Regions from separate parts of the Homo sapiens genome. Here regions 1 and 3 are each linked to region 2. The links are contacts of gene promoters, found by promoter capture Hi-C in blood cells and fetal thymus (Javierre and others, 2016). All regions are on one chromosome and are shown on one strand. Each heading gives the region's core, a stretch centred on a gene start or on the middle of the fragment in contact. The rest is flanking DNA. Distances are from core to core; before and after follow the strand shown.

Region 1 (4,055 bases), core at 183-2,682, 320 kb before region 2:
AGCCTGTAAGAGTCTCTCACTCTAGTCAGTTAAGGCAGAAAATTATATAATATAAAGTAATCACAAGAGTGGCATCCATCGCCTTTGCCGTATTCTATTGGTTTGAATCAAGTTACAGGTTCTACCTGCACTCGAGGGGAGGGAATTATGTAAGAACATGGTTTACTTTGGTGTTACTTTATGGTGTATCTACCATATCATTATAACATATTTTAAGGCACAGAAACCCATAGGAGATAACAGGAAGGATACTCATCTGTAAAATTTCTTGACACTTTGCCTTGTGTGTTTCAGAATTTTCTAAAGTAATAAAACCCATCAGATAGAGTTGCAGTCCCTTGTGTTTGTCCCCTTCTTATTTCTCCCTCTTGTCCAGGAAGTAACCACTATAAAAAATTTGGAATTGCACATTTTTATTCATGTTTTTATACTATTTCTATAAATGTATATATGCATGTATGGAAACTATATAAATGGAATCATACTGTACATGGGCTTCAACTTTCAATATTCCCTTTTTGAGGTTCATCCATGGTGACACATGTGGCTTTAGTCTATTCATTTGCTTTGTGTCCTAGTATTATCTCTCTCTCTTTTTGAGACAGAGTCTTCCTCTGTCACCCAGGCAGGAGTGGTATGATGTTGGCTTACTGCAGCCTCTGCCTCCTGGTTCAAGTGATTCTCCTGCCTCAGCCTCCCGAATAGCTGGGACTACAGGCACGTGCCACCACACCCTTCAACTTTTTTTTTTTTTTTTTTTTGTACTTTTAGTAGAGATGGCATTTCACCACATTGGCTAGGCTGGTCTTGCACTCCTGACCTCAAGTGATCCACCGCCCTGGCCTCCCAAAGTGCTAGGATTACCGGCATGAGCCACCATGCCTGGACATATTCCATTTATTTATTCATTCTCCTATTGATGGACATATAGATTGCTTCCAATTTCTTTTTGCTGATGCATCAATCATGCAAGAAACATTGTCATACCCATCTCTTTGAGCATGTGTGTGAGAATTTTTTTCCTAAAGGACACACCTGGAAATAGAATCGTTTGGTTGTGAGGTAATGCATCGGCAATTTTAAAATACATTTCCCAGTTTCTCTTCATAGTGGGTATAACCATTTTCACTCCCACCAAACACCCTTGTCTTTTTCATATCTGCCCAAGACTTGAGGTTGTCTGTTTCTTTTAATGATTATAAATCTGATAGGTGTAAAAATTGCTGATATGTTCAGTCACATTCCTGATTTTTAGTGAACTAGAACATAGTTTTTATTTTTATTCACCATCCAGGTTTCCTCTTCTAGGAATTGCCTATTCATAGACATAAAATTTATCCCTTTTTTTCAAACATGTGTCAAGGTGACCCGACCTGGAAGAGGGACCTGTTTCTACCTGTGGTTAGAATGTGGCACTGCTTTAGCCCCTCAGTGGCCTTTTCATGGTGGCTTTTGTCAGGAATGGCAGCAATGAGATCCTCTGAAGTTCTTCATAATCAAGAGATGTCAACAAGGAAGACCCGGGACAAGAGGGGAGGAATGGGGAGGACTCCACGTGGAGATGATAGCTGGACAGCTGAGGATGCATGAAATGCACGCAGAGACTCCCAGAAATATTGAACAGGGGACCTGCGTGAATACATGGAGGCAAGCCATGGAAAATGTAAGACACTGGGATGAATGGAGCATTTTCAAGGTAGCTCTTTCTGTGTTTATAGCAAGGTGAGGCAGGGGTATATTTGTTACACAGTTTAGCCTTTTCTGGACTTGGGGATACTATTGGCATCAGTTAGTTCCTTTTATAACTCTAGCAGCATATGTGTAAACCAAAAAGAAAAGTTAATCTTCCAAAAACAATGTTGCTTCCCCAGGCATGATCTCTCATATCATAAGGTCTCCTTCTGTCTCCTTGATTCATTTCTTCATTTCCTTCATGTCTACAGGAATAAATCACAGAAGGCTAGTTCTGGGATCATCACTTAGGGGTTATTTGGAACCCATGTATGGGAGAGTTTTGTCTTAAGCTAAGCAGAGCTCTTGTAAGCCTTGTCTGTCCACATCATCTGGATCCCTCATCAGGTGTTTGTGCGTAAGGACCAAACTCCAAAATCCATGGTAGCCAATAATCCTGACATTTTTGGAGGACCAGCTACTTCAGAGTGACTTTCAATCTTGGATTATTTAGGTCACTAATTAAAACAACAACAACAACAAACTGCCTTTGTGACCTCAATATCCATCCATCCATCTATACATCCATCCATTGATTTATTTATCTATTCATCCCCAAACTATTTAATGAGTACAACTACTAAGTACTGGGCTTAAGGTTTGCAGAAGAAAATATTTTGTATTCTCCTGAGTAATGTGAACTTATTCCAGGATTCAATACCCTCCTTTTCATACTTATGCATAAATCACCTATAAGAAAACCCTTTTGTTTTATTTTATGAAGTGTAAATGTTGTTTTCTGATAATAAAATTGATGTATAATTGTATTAGTTCATCCTTGCACTGCTGTGAAGAAATACCTGAGACTGGGTAATTTATAAATAAAAGAGGTTTAATCGGTTCACAGTATAGGAAGCACAGTGGCTTCTGCTTCTGGGGAGGCCTCAGGAAACTTACAATCACAGCAGAAGATGAAGTGGAAGCAGGCATGTCTTACATGGCTGGAGGGAGCAGGAGGAAGAGAGAGAATGGGGAGGTGCCACATGCTCTTAAACAGATCTCATATTAACTCACTCACTCACTCCCATGAGAACAGCACCAAGGGGATGGTGCTAAACCATTCGTGAAAGTTCCAATCACCTCCCACCAGGCCCCACCTTCAACATTGAGGCTTACAACTGACCATGGTATCCAAACCATAGCAATAATCGTTGAAAAACCTTCATTAAATCAGATATTTACAATTTAGATAGTGAAAATTCTTTTAAAACAAGATGGAATTATACTATACCTCCTATTTTCACTTAAAAATCTAAGGTAGATATCTTAGCCATGAGTCCATACAGATCTAACTCATTATTTTCAAATAGCTTCATAGTATTCCATTTTACGGAGGTACAATAATTTATTTAATACATTTCTTATTGATGAGCATTTAGAACAGTTCCAGTAATTTACTGTTATCAAACAAGGCTGCAATACCTTTGTTCAAATATATTTGTATGGTTTGTCAACAATTCAAAACATGATAAATGCCTAGAACTAGGATTGCTGAGTCAAATGGTAGGTGTATTAATAGCTATTGCTAACTTCCCTTCTAAAAAGTTTATGTGAATTTAAACTACTACTAGTAGTATGTACGAGTGTACACATTTCCCCACACTCTCACTCACACTGTGTGTCAGTGACATCTGGCAAGATAGAATAACCTCATGTTGTTTTACTTTGCATCTCTTGAAGTAATAATAAGCTTTAATATGTTTTCAGATGTTTATTATCATTAGTGGTTCTTATTTTATAAATTGCCTCTTCAAATTCTTTGCAAATTTTTACAGGGGTGTTCTTCTTTTTCTTTTTTCTTTTTAACTACTCTTTATAGATTGAGTATGGATAAGGTTTGGCTGTGTCCACACCCAAATCTCATCTTGAATTGTAGTTCCCATAATCCCCACGTATGTGGGAGGGACCGGGTGGGAGGTAATTGAATCATGGGGGCAGTTTCCCTCTTGCTGTTCTTGTGATAGTGAGTTCTCATGAGATCTGGTAGATTTATAAGGGGCTTTTCCCCCTTTTTGCTTGCACTTCTTTTTGCTGCCGCCATGTGAATAAGGACGTATTTACTTCCCCTTCCACCATGCTTGTAAGTTGCCTGAGGTATCCCCAGCCATGCTGAACTGTGAGTCAATTAAACCTCTTTCCTTTATAAATTACCCACTGTTGGGTATTTCTCCATAGCATCATGAGAATGGGCTAATACAGGCATGAACTCAGTATTTTGTGTGTGTGTTCATGTTTTTTACAGTATGCTTGCTTTAAATATATTGACAATGTCTTTTATCATGAAGGAGTTTAAACTGTTTGTATGATTAGGTCTGTAAGTCTTT
Region 2 (4,140 bases), core at 91-2,590:
TGATTTCCATTGTTTCTCATTATGTTTCCCTTGACTTCTAGCTCTGAGTTTTTGCTTTAGAACTGCCAATTCCTCTTCCTTACCTGAGCCACCTTCTCTGCACTTCTATCCTCACTTGCTAGGTCTTCCTTGACATCTGAGATGCCAGGTGAGCAGAATACTTACCTCGCTGCACTGCAGATGCCTGGGTCAGAATGCAGGAGACCAAGGCCAGCCACAGGAGGCCAGAGCCCACCATCCTTTCCATAAGGTGAGGCATGCAGGTCACTTTGCTGTATGCAGACTTCCCATGCAGCTATGGGAAAGAAAAGACCAAGATAAGATTAGGGCATAGGTCTATGTTCTTAGAAACAGATCCGTTGACTTCCTTCATAAAGAGCTGCATTGTTTCAAAGTAGGTGTGACTTATGGACAGATAGAGCGAGATAATGGGTGATAAAATTGACAGTAAGCAAACCAAAGGCAAGCTTAGAGCTGGCTAGTACTGCAGAATGTCCTAGAAAGGTCTCAGGATGGTCCCTGCTCAGGTGGAAGTAGAGGCTCTTTGGAGATTGGATAGAGAAAAAGGGATATGGTACCTGTGAATACCTGCACACAAAAGTAATGGCTGCCCTTTCTTAGTTTTATGCATTGGGTGCTGCTAAGAGCCCCCTGAAATGTCCTCTATGGATGTAGATTTCTGTGACTGTGGAACCATGCCAAACCGAGCCTCATGTTCCTTGCTCCTAGTACAGAATCTGGCACACAAGGAGTACTCAGTAGAGGATTAAGGATGAATAAATAAATCAATGGGGGTTGGGGGCGGTGGCGAGGCAGAAAGAAAGAGCTGCAAAAAAGCCTGCCAGCATTTGGATGGCATTTACTTTTCTGGGAAATACTTTCCCTAAATGGCCAAATCTTTGGATAACTTCCTACAACCTCTGGAAGACTTCAGTGGAAAATAGAGATCGGTTTCGGGCAGGGATACCATGAGTATGCTATGAGACAGCAGGGATAGGGAAGCACCCAGGATTGGTGATTCTTAGAGATGAGATCCCAATAGAGACCTAGTTCCCTGGTGGGAATATCTGGGACAAGGAAGAGGGTGGCGTCCGTAGGCCTGGAGCATCGCAGATGACTGGAAGCATGACTGAGTTGGACATAGAGTGGTACCTGGAGCACTTGACAATGGCCAGGGTCCAAACTACTTGCTGGGTTCTAAAAATTTCCAGAAACAAAGAATCCTAGCATGTCCAGTGGATCAAGATTTCCCAGGATTAGGAGGAAGCCTCCTGGGGCTTAAAGCAGGACTTACCTCCGATGAGAACACAAAGCGTTCCTCCTCTGGCCAGCCATGGGAATGCAGCCTGCTGTGGGCCGTCTTTTTATTGCAATTTCCCACCCATGTGTCTCTCCTCAATTGGTGCACAGGTATGATGGGAGTTCTAGGCCATACACTGGGCTTGTTGAGTGGAGGTGAGATAAGCCATTTACGCAAAGGATGGTGAAAGAAGGGCCCTCCCCTCACAATGTCAACCCTTCCAGCTGTCTCAGCATTGTGCGAATGCTTCCTACAAACAATAGTGCTGTGTGCTGAATGCTGAACATGCTGGGCACTGCTTTGCGTTCTTGACTTCTCACATTTAATCTTCATAATTAATCAATGAAACTGGTGCCATATTTATTACCAGAAACCAAACACGAATTGAAAGGAAGCTTAATACCCAAAGGGAAGTGAAGAGAAAATCAAACAGGCACTTGTTTGCACAATGGATTTTCAGTTGTACCTTGTGTTCCTAGCTAATCATCTTGGAACATTTCTGCTTCTGTCTGAAGGCCACTGAGCTTGGGGCCAGTTAGACTAAGAGGACACATAGGAAAGGAAAGAAGGGAGTGTGGATGTTTCGAAAAATTCCATTTATTGGTCCATAGAATCTACCCAACTCCGGATTTCTAATGCTGAGCAGTTTTGGAATGGCTAATTTGGTGATGATGGATTTTGGAATGGCAAAGGACAGACAAAGGTTCTTGGACAAAAGAAGCACCAGAGTAGCCCCTGTAAATCCCTTTTGATATGTAGGCTGCCCTAGAGATTGGAAGGCATGAGACTGAGAAGAGGCTGTAGAGGATCTTGGACTTATTAACTCCAGGCTTGGACCTGGCTTTCATGACATGGTAGAAATCATGGACTTCATAAAAGAGCCAAAGCTTTTGCAGAAAAAATGGCCACTGCTTCTTCTCTGTCACTCTGGGACTCCTTAAGGAGCCAAGGCAACTGGAGTCAAGGGAGCAGGAGGGTCTTGGCATTGGTAACACCTTCTACAAAACCTCAACCTGGAAAAAGAAAAGGTGCTACAAGCCACCTTCTCTACTCCCAGAGCAACTGGAGAATAAATAGTCTCTAAAATGTGGAACTTGTGACAACTGGGCCCACTAAATCACCTACTGATCCATTCAGTCTGGCCAGGTGCCCATCCCAGTCTCCCCAGTGGCCACTCTTAACCTTCCCATTCCTCTTAAATGGTCTCTGCAGCTATTATCACCCACTCACACCACCTTTCTCAGCAGATATCTGGTACCCTACTTCAAAAACAATTTAGGCCACAACACCTGACCTTGCTCCTTCCCCTGTAAACATATAAATACTGGTCTCCATCCTCCACCCCTTCCCCCTCCAACTTCTGATAAGGCGATGTTCCTCCTTTTCAAAGTCAGTTCCTCCATCCCTCTTCTGGCTTCTCCATTCCAATCTGAACCATGTAGCTACAACTTTATAGCCAAATCCACTGGGTAGTTTGTTTCTGCTCCTTTGTGATTGGATTTGCCTACTGCTTGTTCCGGGTACCTTGCATTTCCTTGACTCCGCATGTTCATATTTTCTTGATTCTCCTGTTTCTACCTGGAGATTTCTGCTCTGTTGCTACAAGATCCTGTCTCTAAGAATGCTGGTTAGGTCCCATTTTTCTTTTCACGTCATAAACTCTCCCTGGGAGGTATCAAGTTATCTCATGGTTTCACATACCATCTCCAGGCTGGTGAGTTCTGAATCCGTATCCCCAGCTTTCGCTACTCCCTTGAACTTCAGTTCCATCTACCTATTGATTGCTGGACCTCTCACTGCCGCTGAGATGCTTGAGACACCTCAAACTCAGCAAGTGCAACTCTGAGCTCATCAAGTCACCTAAATCTTCTCCTCCTCATTGTATGATCTATTTTAATCAAAGGTGCCACTTGCCTCCCAGTCATCCAAGCTGGAAACTTGGCCTCTTCCTTTCTAAGCTCCTTCCTTTCTCCCTCTGCTCCCATTTCCAATAATCCTTTCTTCTCCATCTCCACCTCACCAATCCAAATTCGGGCCACCATTCCTTATGAAGGTAATTTTTTTTTTTTAGCAAGAGTCTTGCTCTGTTGCCCAGGCTACAGTGCAGTCACGTGATCATAGGCTCACTGCAGCCTTGATCTCCTGGGCTCAAATAATCCTCCCACCTCAGCCTCCTGAATAGCTGGGACTACAGTTGTAGGCCACCACATCTGGCTAATTTTTAAACTGTTTTGTAGAGGCAGCATCTTGCTATGTTGCCCAGGCTGGTCTTAAACATTTTGGCTTAAATTATCTTCCTGCCTTGCCCCCACAAAGTGCCAGGATTACAGACCTGAGCCTCTGCGCCCTGTCCAGAGTCATTTTAATAGCTGCCCAACAGGTCTCCCTGCTTTCATTCTTATTTTTGTTTGTTTTCTCCCCTGCAGCCAGAGGCCAGTGTACCATCTGTCAGCATTATCTCCCATTCCCAGCACTTTATGCTCCCTGGGATCTGACCCCTCTTTACAGTTCCAACCTCACCTATGACTTCTCCACCACACATTGCATGCTCCAGCCAATCTGTGGTTGTCTGGCCTCTTCCTCATCTTCAAGCCTTTGCATACGCTATTCCCTCAGCCTGCATCACTCTTCACCCAGCCTCCTCCTACGTTATCACCTCTTCCAGGAAGCTTTTCCTTTTTCTTTTTTTTGAGGTGGAGTTTTGCTCTTGTCACCCAGGCTGGGTGCAATGGCATGATCTTGGCTCACTGCAACCTCTGCCTCCTGGGTTCAAGTGTTTCTCCTGCCTCAGCCTCCCGAGTAGCTGAGATTACAGGCACCCGCCACCACGCCCAGCTAAT
Region 3 (4,268 bases), core at 533-3,032, 300 kb before region 2:
ATTATGAGGCTGTTATAATATATATCATGCCTGAATGATCTGGGTTTGAAGAGTTGCAAAATTATGCAATGCACCCAACTCTAAAATGGGCATAAAACCAATGTGATGTTTTGGGGGAATGACTTAGAATTTTGCAAAGAAGATAATGAGGTGAAGTGAAAAGGATGGAGTGTTGAGTGACCTGGGTTCCATTCAGGCCCAGATCATTGACCTCTTTGGGCCTAGCATCCTCACCTATAAAATGATGTACAATTGGAGGCTTTTTAAAAAACTCTGCTACTAATAATCACTTTATAAGTTACCTACTGGAATTATAATTAGCTCCATTTTATGGAGAGAAAATTGAGACTCAGAGAGAGAGAGATTGAGAACATTGCTCAAGTTCACATAGCCAGGAAAGTTATAGCCTGTAATAACTGACTCCAAATCTTGGGTTCCTGACTATAAGAGTTTCTACATACCTTGAAGACAACTGGAAAAAATTTAAATTATGCACCGTTTTCTAGATGAGGAAAGTCCTTAGGAAATCTCCAAGGACTTGCTCAAGGCCATTCATCTAGTAAATGGGGGAGCTGGGACATGAACTCGTGACTGTCTGACATCAAAGCCCAAGCTCTTAGACATGATGCTGGATTTCCAGTTATGATTATTAAAAAATCATCCTTCACTGTCTCAAAGATGTACAGAGGATGTGATCAGCAGAGAATTCAGATTTATACCCAGTAAACTACCTAAATGAGGATTGTAGGGAGCACAGTTCAGTGGTCTTAAATTCTGAACTATATCTGCTAACCAGGAGACAGATGGAACTCTGGTTTTATTCTAGCACCCAGCACAATGTATAAGAAAGATGTCCACTTAAATGTTAAATGTTTAAACCAGCATTCTGCAATTTGGAAGATATCATGCTTAGTGAAATGAGCCAGGCACAGAAAGACAAATACTATATGATTTCACTTATATGTGGAATCCAAAAGAGTCAAACTCATAGAAGTAGAGAGTAAAATGATGGTTACCAGAGGCTGGAAGTAGGTGAGAAGCAGGGAATGGGAGATGTTTGTCAAAGGGCACAAAGTTTGTTAGATGGAAGAAATAAATTTTGAGATCTATTGCATAGCAGGGTGAGTGGAGTCGGTAACAATGTATGTTTCAAAATAACAGATAATAAATTTCAAATTTCTCACCACAAAAAAAATGATAAGTGAAGTGACAGATGTGTTAATTTAGCTTGATTTAATTATTCCACATTGTATACATATATCAAAACATCACATTGTATCCCATAAATGTATACAATTATGATTTATCAATTAAAAATAATAGTAATAAAAATCAGCATACTGCAATTGCTTGAACATAGATGCAAATACCAAACACCAAGTGTGCACCATATTAGAATTTATTATAATACAAACAAGTCCAAACACAATATATAATCTAATTAAGAAAATATGAACATTTGCTTTTTTTCTATGGTAACTTTCTATTCCATTCTCTGAACTGGAATAGCCAACATTAGAGTCTTTTATTCACTTCGGGTAGGCTCCCCATGTTGAACCAGGAGGTACCAAATGTGCAAAGTGATCTTTTCCAATAGCAGGGTGTTTGCAACACACAAGTTCGTGCCCACTCCGGTCTGTCTTTTATGGTTTGTCTGTCATTCCCCTCATTTCCTTCCCCATGAGACATTTCAGCCGTCAAGTTGTTCAATAAAAAGACACAGCATGGTGGTGCGTATCATCATTGCAATGTCCAACCAAGGACACAAATCATATAGCAAGAGAGAAGCTAGTTAACTGTCTTTGAAAGAGGCACCACAAAAACCCACGATAAGGCAATTGCTTTAGTGCCACCAGCAGCAGCCATTTACATGACAGGCTTCAAAGTTCAAGGCTTTATTGTCAAAACTGGCCTGAAAGAAAAGGCTTACAAGTTTTTAAAGTTTTAAAGTTAAAAAAAACCCATTTCATGATGTCCATAATTATTACTATAAATAATAATAAAAGTCCTTAGATAGTTTGAAATAAATTTTAAGAGATATGAATCAACCTAACCCAATGGGCATTCATTTGCATTTTAAGCAGAAGACAGCAATTCACTACAGTGCCTTCAAGAATTGGACCTCTTTTAAATATCATGTAGCAAAATATAAAATATATTCGGAGGAAAAGAGATCACAATACCACGTGGTAGAGCCTCTATCATCGAGAAGTAATAAATTAAAGTGTCTGAGGAAAATGTTCCCAATGCACACCCAGTTTTTAAACATCAACAATTAATTGTTACACACAATTAAAAATATGGAGCAGAGAGCATGGAGAGTCACATACATATTTTCCATCTTATATACATTCTCAAAAAGGAATTGCTTAACCTTTGTAGATATTGCACTTTGACTCATTCATGTGTAGCTCAAACTAGCATTTTTCAGAGCTACATGTTTAAAAAATAAATAAATAAATATATATATATATATATATTCAGTATAGGTAGCCTTTGGTCAATGTCCATTCATAAGGGGGTGTAGTGGCGTTGCATCACACACACATTTAATGAACACATGTTCAATTACACGTGCTTGGCAAAAAAGAGACAGAGAGAAATGCAATTTAAGGGAGGTGAGGGAATCTGCTTACCATTCCACTCAATGAGCATACGCCCTGGGGAGCGTGGGAGATGGGAGATCTGTCCCTCAGTCAGACGACTTCCATGAACTTCTTTGAGTGGAAGCATCTTGATGCACCAGGGTGGTCCTAATGTTCTCAGATACATTAGAATCACACAATATGGTCCCTAAATGAGAGCCAATTCTGTCTTGTCATCAACCAGAGAAACAGCAACTTGTTCCAATGCTAGAGAAAAACTTAGCTGTGTTAGGTTTTGAAAGCAATGGAATATAATCTCCAACATGGCTCTTTTTTGAGGATCTTTTGCAAAGGTAACTTTGGCTCTGTAAGGTTTTATCTTTTGCACTGACTTTAGAATCTAATCCTTGGCTCTGATGAGATTCTATTGCGATCCTTTAAAAGGGGTAAGAATTAGGATCATCAGGACTAATATGACCTAAGTTTGTATTGAGTTAGTATTGAGAGCATTGGCTGAAGTTTAGGGTTTGTGTTGCCATGGGGCCTTTTCTTATCCCATTCATTTATTGCAAATTCCCTTAAAAAAGATAGACATGTCTTCCAACTTAGGGACAAAATGCAGTAAAAATCCAGCCTGAGGAACTAAATATTCCAGGTGGACTGTCTGCCGTTTTTTGGTCACCAAAAATGTCATGCAATTTCAAAGTCAGTTTGGCAAATTTATTCCAAAACAGGGATGAATTCGAATACTGGGAATCTGAGGGAGAAGTTAAAAAAAAAAGAAGAAAAAAGAAACACTAAATAAGACGAATATAATCATGTGTGTGTGTGTGCTGCACACATAAGTAGCAATTTCCAGGGATGCCCCTATTCATTACATCCTAGAAATGTTCTTGCCTTGGACAGGCAAGGGTAGAATAAATAAACACACTTATATTTTATCATTTTACAAAGGATCTGGGTTAAATAGCTTTACCAAGAACTGGCACCCCCTTTTGAGCCATGTGCGTCAAAGGGCAGACGAGGCGTCAGCATGGGCACCTTTTGTGTCTGCGTTTGTGGCGAAATGGCAGCGCCAGCTGGGCTGTGAGACAGAGCTGAGAACACCTCCTCTCATACCCGCAGAGCTGCAGTTCCTGACCCTTGAATATTAAATTCAGTTCGGAAGTCACTTCAAATAAAACAATTTGGTGAGGGCCTCAGCAAGCAAGGAGGCAGGGTTGGCAACTTGACACGTAAAAAGGCTTCTCTAGGAAGCTGGAGTGATACCATAACAAGAAGCAATTTTGAGTAACGGGATCGTATGCAGCTGACACAGGGATGGGTTGAAACAATGGCAAGTGTGGGCTTATTTTTTTGTTTTTCTGGGCTCGAGAATTCCTCCTTTCCCCCTGCGCACCAGGCAGGGTCTTTGTTTTGGAGGAGATAGAGAAAATCTATACATAATGATAAATAGAAAACTGCCTTTTAGACCCCAGGTTTGAGGTCACAGCTATGCGGGTTTGGAGATTTCCTGAAGAAGCTCTGGCCACAGTTTGGATGGGATCCAATACTCTTCTATTCCCACAGTGTCATTCTGAAGCTAGGAGTGCCAGAGCCAATTCAAGACCACAACCCTCTCTAGGACAAAGGGCACCTTGAAAAAAATCCTGAAATAGTCATTATTGTTAGCTCCTGGGAACA

What was found. Contacts are between HindIII fragments. The CHiCAGO score rates a contact against its expected background, and 5 or more counts as called.
Region 1: a fragment that was not itself captured here is called in contact with the fragment with the promoter of GP2 in region 2 in 3 of 17 cell types (M2 macrophages, endothelial precursors and M1 macrophages); the score reaches 6.5 in M2 macrophages.
Region 3: a contact is called between a fragment that was not itself captured here and the fragment with the promoter of GP2 in region 2, in 2 of 17 cell types (M2 macrophages and endothelial precursors). The highest score is 6.2, in M2 macrophages.

Annotation. Positions count from the first base shown.
Region 1 is chr16:20,010,084-20,014,138 of GRCh38, forward strand. No RefSeq gene overlaps it. Among named protein-coding and RNA genes, the nearest start is that of GPR139, 62 kb to the right of the region's middle. The HindIII fragment of the contact is 3,974 bases long and covers 1-3,419 here.
Region 2 is chr16:20,326,173-20,330,312 of GRCh38, forward strand. It overlaps GP2 (glycoprotein 2), which reads right to left and starts at 1,341. Exons shown (of 11, transcript NM_001502.4): 1 at 1,295-1,341; 2 at 166-295. The coding sequence starts at 259. The HindIII fragment of the contact is 1,228 bases long and covers 466-1,693 here.
Region 3 is chr16:20,027,025-20,031,292 of GRCh38, forward strand. It overlaps GPR139 (G protein-coupled receptor 139), which reads right to left. Exons shown (of 2, transcript NM_001002911.4): 2 at 1,215-4,268. Among named protein-coding and RNA genes, the nearest start is that of GPR139, 45 kb to the right of the region's middle. The HindIII fragment of the contact is 5,491 bases long and covers 1-4,268 here.